Regions from separate parts of the Homo sapiens genome. Here region 2 is linked to region 1. Evidence: promoter capture Hi-C in human tissues and cell types (Jung and others, 2019). All regions are on one chromosome and are shown on one strand. The core of a region is centred on a gene start or on the middle of the fragment in contact, and the rest is flanking DNA. Distances in the headings are between cores, read along the strand shown.

Evidence for each region. Contacts are between HindIII fragments. The study calls those that stand out against the background at their distance.
Region 2: a fragment that was not itself captured here is called in contact with the fragment with the promoter of TRIM4 in region 1 in 1 of the 25 tissues and cell types used here (H1 embryonic stem cells).

What each region holds. Positions count from the first base shown.
Region 1 is chr7:99,918,142-99,920,841 of GRCh38, forward strand. TRIM4 (tripartite motif containing 4) reads right to left here and starts at 1,389. Exons shown (of 6, transcript NM_033091.3): 1 at 868-1,389. The coding sequence starts at 1,260. LOC101927610 (a long non-coding RNA gene) reads left to right here and starts at 1,462. Exons shown (of 2, transcript XR_001745296.3): 1 at 1,462-1,686. RefSeq lists a silencer at 961-1,120 and enhancers at 1,251-1,300, 1,331-1,410, 1,651-1,760. The HindIII fragment of the contact is 5,230 bases long and covers 1-2,700 here.
Region 2 is chr7:99,606,662-99,609,361 of GRCh38, forward strand. It overlaps TMEM225B (transmembrane protein 225B), which reads left to right. Exons shown (of 6, transcript NM_001195541.3): 4 at 87-233; 5 at 1,012-1,149. Among named protein-coding and RNA genes, the nearest start is that of ZSCAN25, 8.9 kb to the right of the region's middle. The HindIII fragment of the contact is 8,768 bases long and covers 1-2,700 here.

The DNA of each region.
Region 1 (2,700 bases), core at 139-2,638:
CAGACAGGCACTGTCCAATACAGTATCCATTTAGCCATACAAGCACCTGAAACGTGGATATTCCAAACTGCTATGTGTTGTAAATGTAAAATACACACCAATTTCAGACCTATTATGAAAAAGGAGTATAAAATATCTCATTGAGGCCGGGCGTGGTGACTCACACCTTAATCCCAGCACTATGGGAGGCCAAGCGGGGCAGATCACTTGAGGTCAGCAGTTCGAGACCAGCCTGGCCAAGATGGTGAAACCCCTCTATACTAAAAAACAAAAATTAACCGGGTGTGGTGGCGTGTGCCTGTAATCCCAGCTACTCGGGAGGCTGAGGCAGGAGAACTGCTTGAACCCCGGAGGAGGAGGTTGCAGTGAGCCAAGATCACGCCACTGTGCTCCAGCCTGGGCAATAAAGTGAGACTCCATCTCAGAAAAAAAAAAAAAATCTCATTGATAATTTTCATCTCAGCTTTGAATATTTGGGGTAATCAGATTAAATAAAATATATTATTACAATTAACGTCACCTCGTTTCCTTATCTTACCAGAAAGATTTTAAATTACATATGTGGTTTCTATTGGACAGCAGCGGCACACACCCTCTCAGTATGTTTTTCTTTATTATGAGCTCCCCAAGGGCCAGTTTATTGAAAATTCTGCACAATGATTGCTGAGGTTTGCACCTCCCCTCCTCTCATTCCAGTTTTAACCCTAGCTCTGAAATTCGTGTTTTGCTTAACTTCTTTGAGTTTCAGGGGCTTTTCATGCTTCCAGTAGGAATGACAGCCACTTCGTGGCTCTTTTAGGAGCATTAAGTAAACTTTATCGGGCAACACTGACAGCCCCGTCATAGTCACCGCGACGGCCAGCTCACCCGGTAGCTCTCGAAGGCCTCGTCGATGGGTGCCATGGCGTGAGTCTGGTGCTCCTGGGACTCCCTGCACACCAGGCACACTGGCCGCTGGTCGTCCTCGCAGAAGAGCCGCAGCGGCTCCCAGTGGCGGCCGCACAGGCCCGGGGGCACGGGGCCCAGGCGCCGGCGCTGCGTCTTCTCAGTCAGCCTGGCCAGGGCCCAGTTGGGTCGCAGCGCGGCGGGCGCCGATGGGTGCCGACATTCGGGGCAGGGGAACGGGCCGCCGCCCGGCGCCCAGTTGCGGTGCAGGCAGCCGCGGCAGAAGTTGTGGCCGCACTCGATGGACACCGGGTCCTGGAAATAGTCCAGGCAGATGGGGCAGGTCAACTCCTCCTGGATGTCCTCAGCTTCCATGCTGCTTCCCTGCCGCGGAGACGGAGTCCGACGTGAGGCGCGGGAGAGGCCAGCAAGCTGCGAGCGGCCGCGGGGAGGCCAGACGACTTCCGAACCGCCGTCACCGCCTCACGTAAAAGGGTACAACGCAGTTTCTCTTCCGGGGTTCAGGACCCAAAAAGAACGCACGGACGTTGCCCGGCCTGAGCGCGCAAGACCGGAAGCTGCTGGGTATCCGCGCCGGAACCGCGAGGGGGTTGGTTCAGGCCTAGGCGCGGGGCAGGACGGGACCGGTGAGTGGCTCCTCCAAACAGCTATAGAGACCCAGAAATGCCTGTGGAAAGCTACAGAGGACTTGGGCAAGGCGTTAGAGCCGGACGTTGTGGTCCCTGGGGGAGCCAACCGGGGAGGTGCCTATGATCTTTCTTTCCAAGTTTGAGGGTTCAGGTCTGTGTTCGCCTGCTGGTTAGACCGATTTAAGTTTTAGAGTCCCAGGAGTTCTGGGCGAGCTGCAGCCTAGGGGCCTGGAAGGCCAGGAAGACTTGAAGGATCTGTGTTGGTAGGCCTGGAGTTTGGCTAACGTGGGGATGATTTGGATTCTGAGATGCAGATACATTGCCTTTTTGGTATCCAATTTGAAAAGTAGCAACCATTTTGCTATCCCAAAGAACATCCATGGAGGCTTTCAACAAATAATATGCTCACCTGTTTCAGGGAATTATCTATATCCCTTAAGTGGATTTTCGATCTTGTGTTTCTGAGGTGCTTTGCTTTTTATTCTTCCCACTTTCTTCCTTTTCTTGTGAATATTTGTTTAAAACAAAAAAAACTCTGGACTGACAAATTTAATAGAAGCTATTTGCACAAAGAACAGTTCATGAATTGGGCAGCACTCAGAACCAAAAGAGGTTCAGAGAGCTCTGTCCAGCAGTATGACCTGCTAGCTTTTATAGGAAGCAAAGTAGAGAAATCACCTCATTAGCTAACATCTAGGTGTCTGCCTTATTTGACAATGATATGATGAGGCATTTGCCTTATTGGGGCATGGTCTGATCAGTTGGCTGTCTGTTATTTGCTGAAGCTCGGCCGTGATTGGCTGAAACCCAGCTGTTATAAAAAATAAAGTAAGTTAGGCTTCAGTTCGTTTACATACTAAGTCAGGTTGTATTTTGTTATATGGGAACTCAAGTACCAAGACAGCCTCAGGCTAATGGGCTTTTGCTTATTTAACAGATTTTTCATTCTTTTTATGTCCCAATATCAAATACTGCCTTTCCTATAATAATTTTTCTCAGTAAGTAGTATGATTAAATGATTAGAAAAAGGGGTTCTTGAGGTATCTGTTTGGGGGTTATTGATGAAAGTTCCACTGAATATTTCTAAAACATTTAAATTGGACAACTAATGAATGGATTTTCTTTGCAAATTGGAATACTCTATGGAGAAGGGATCTGGTTCTTT
Region 2 (2,700 bases), core at 35-2,534, 310 kb before region 1:
GGGCCAGCCCTGCCCAGGCTCTGAGGGACTCTGACCTTTCCGGGTCAGGGTTCCCAGCTTCAGCCCCACTTCTCCCTCCCCTGCAGTTTACATCATCCTCGGCCGGGTTTTCCTGCTCTCTGCAGTTTTCTTGGCTTTCGTCACCACCTTCATCATGATGCCCTTTGCATCCGAGTTCTTCCCGAGGACCTGGAAGCAAAACTTTGTGTTAGCCTGCATCAGCTTCTTCACAGGTGTGGAACAGCTAGGTGATCCCTGACCTTCGCTAGGGCCTGGGGAGGAGTCCAGAGAAAGAGGGGTGCTCAGTCTCTGTGATGTCAAAAGAGGCATAATTTTTCTTTTTAGGGACAGGGTCTCACTCTGTTACCCAGGCTGGAGTGCAGTGGTGCTATCATAGCTCACTGCAGCCTTAACCTCCCAGGCTAAAGTGATCCTCCCACCTCAGCCTCCCAAGTAGATGGGACTCTAGGCATGTGCCACCATTCCTGGCTAATTTAAACATTTTTTTTTTTGGTAGAGATGGGGATCTCGCTATGTTGCCCAGGCTGGCCTTGAACTCCTGGTGTCAAGCGGTCCTCCTGCCTCAGCCTCCCAATTGCTGAGATTACAGGCATGAACCACTGCACCTGGCCCCTTTTGACATTTATAAAGGGTGACCCAGGCTCCACCCTGAGAGGCTCCTAGGCAAATGGTGGAGGTAGAGCAGTAGGAAAATGGGATTGCATTTAATCCAAAGTGTTGCACCCTCTGCTAAGGTGCAGAGGTGAGCTAAGGGCAGATGCAGAGGGTGCTAGGAAAGGGAGTTCTGATGATGGTTCCCTGGAAGGTAAAGCACATGGGCTTTGAAGATGAGTCAGAAAGGAGGGAGGGACAGGCATCTGGGTAGGAGTTTTGTTTCAGAGAGGGGGCAAGGATGAAGGAGCCTCCAGGCAGGAGCCACAGGGGGTGAAGTTTGGAGGGAAGGCGGGTAGCATGGGAGGAGACCGAGGGTGTCTCCCTGTGACCCTCCAGGGGCCTGTGCCTTCCTGGCTTTGGTGCTGCATGCCCTGGAGATCAAGGCTCTGAGGATGAAGCTCGGCCCCCTGCAGTTCTCCGTGCTGTGGCCTTACTACGTGCTGGGCTTCGGCATCTTTCTGTTCATAGTGGCTGGTGAGTGTCCAGGGAACAGTGCCCTGCTTCTTGTCCTCGGTCTGGATTTAGGAACCTGTCTTGTGGAGGCCCTCCCTTTGGATTCTCTAGAATTGCACTGTTCCAAACCGCAGCTGCCAGTTAGACGTGGCTATTTAACTTTCGTTAATTAAAATAGTTATTGGCCAGATGTGGTGGTTCACACCTGTAATTCCAGTGCTTCGGGAGGCCGAGATGGGTGGATCACTTGAGGCCAGGAGTTTGAGACCAGCCTGGCCAACATGGTGAAACCCCATCTCTACTAAAAATACAAAAATTAGCTGGGCGTGATGGCACATGTCTGCAATCCCAGCTACTCGGGAGGTTGAGGCAGGAGAATCGCTTGAACCCAGGAGGCAGAGGTTGCAGTGAGCCGAGATCACATCACTGCACTCCAGCCTGGGTGACAGAGCAAAACTCCATCTCTAAAATAAAATAAAAAGTTATGAATTCAGTTCCTCAGCCATACTAGCCACATCACCGATGTTCAATAACCACATATGTCCAGTGGCTATTGGACACTGTCATATTGGACAGTGCAGACAGAGAAATTTCCTTCTCTGCAGAACGTTCTACCTGACAGCACTGCTCTGGAGCTTCAACCCCATCCTTGGCCTTCCTGTTCTTATCCTTCTTGACTTAGAACTAAACTCTTTCAAATTTTTATAGTCTCCCTTCCACCATCCTGGTTCCTTAGGCTATCTATTTCTGTCTCTACCTTTTTTTTTTTTTTTTTTAAGAGATAGGGTCTTGCTTTGTTGCCCAGGTTGGAGTGCAGTGGTACAACTGCAGCCTCCAACTCTGGGGCTCAAGCGATCCTCCTGCCTCAGCCTCTTGAATCACTGGAACTACAGGCATGTGCCACCATGGCCAGCTAGTTAAAAAAAAATATATATATATATATATACACACACACACACACACACACACACACACATATTTATATATGCACATATATATGTATGTGTGTATATATGTATATAGACATACATATATGTGTGTGTGTGCACGTATATATATATATATATATACACACACACATATATGTGTATATATGGCCAGGTGCACTGGCTCACACCTGTCATCTCAGCACTTCGGGAGGCCAAGGCAGGTGGACCACCTGAGGTTAGGAGTTCAAGACCAGCCTGGCCAACATGGCGAAAACCCATCTCTACTAAAAATACAAAAATTAGCTGGGTATGGTGGTGCGTGCCTGTAATCCCAGCTACTCAGTAGGCTGAAGCAGGATAATCACTTGAACCCAGGAGGTGGAGGTTGCGGTGAGCTGAGATCTCACCACTGCACTCCAGCCTGGGCAACAGCGGGACTCCATCTCAAAAAAACAAACAAACAAAAAACCACATATTTAAGCTTTTATTTCTTAATTTCCCCTTCACCAAATAGAGTTACAATATTTTATATTTTAACCTTTTAATTCCATTTTTCCATGATTTCCATGAATTCTTTGAAGTTCTCTCACATTTTATTTAAAATTTTTGTGGCTTTTAGTGGTAGAGTAGTCTGCTATAATGC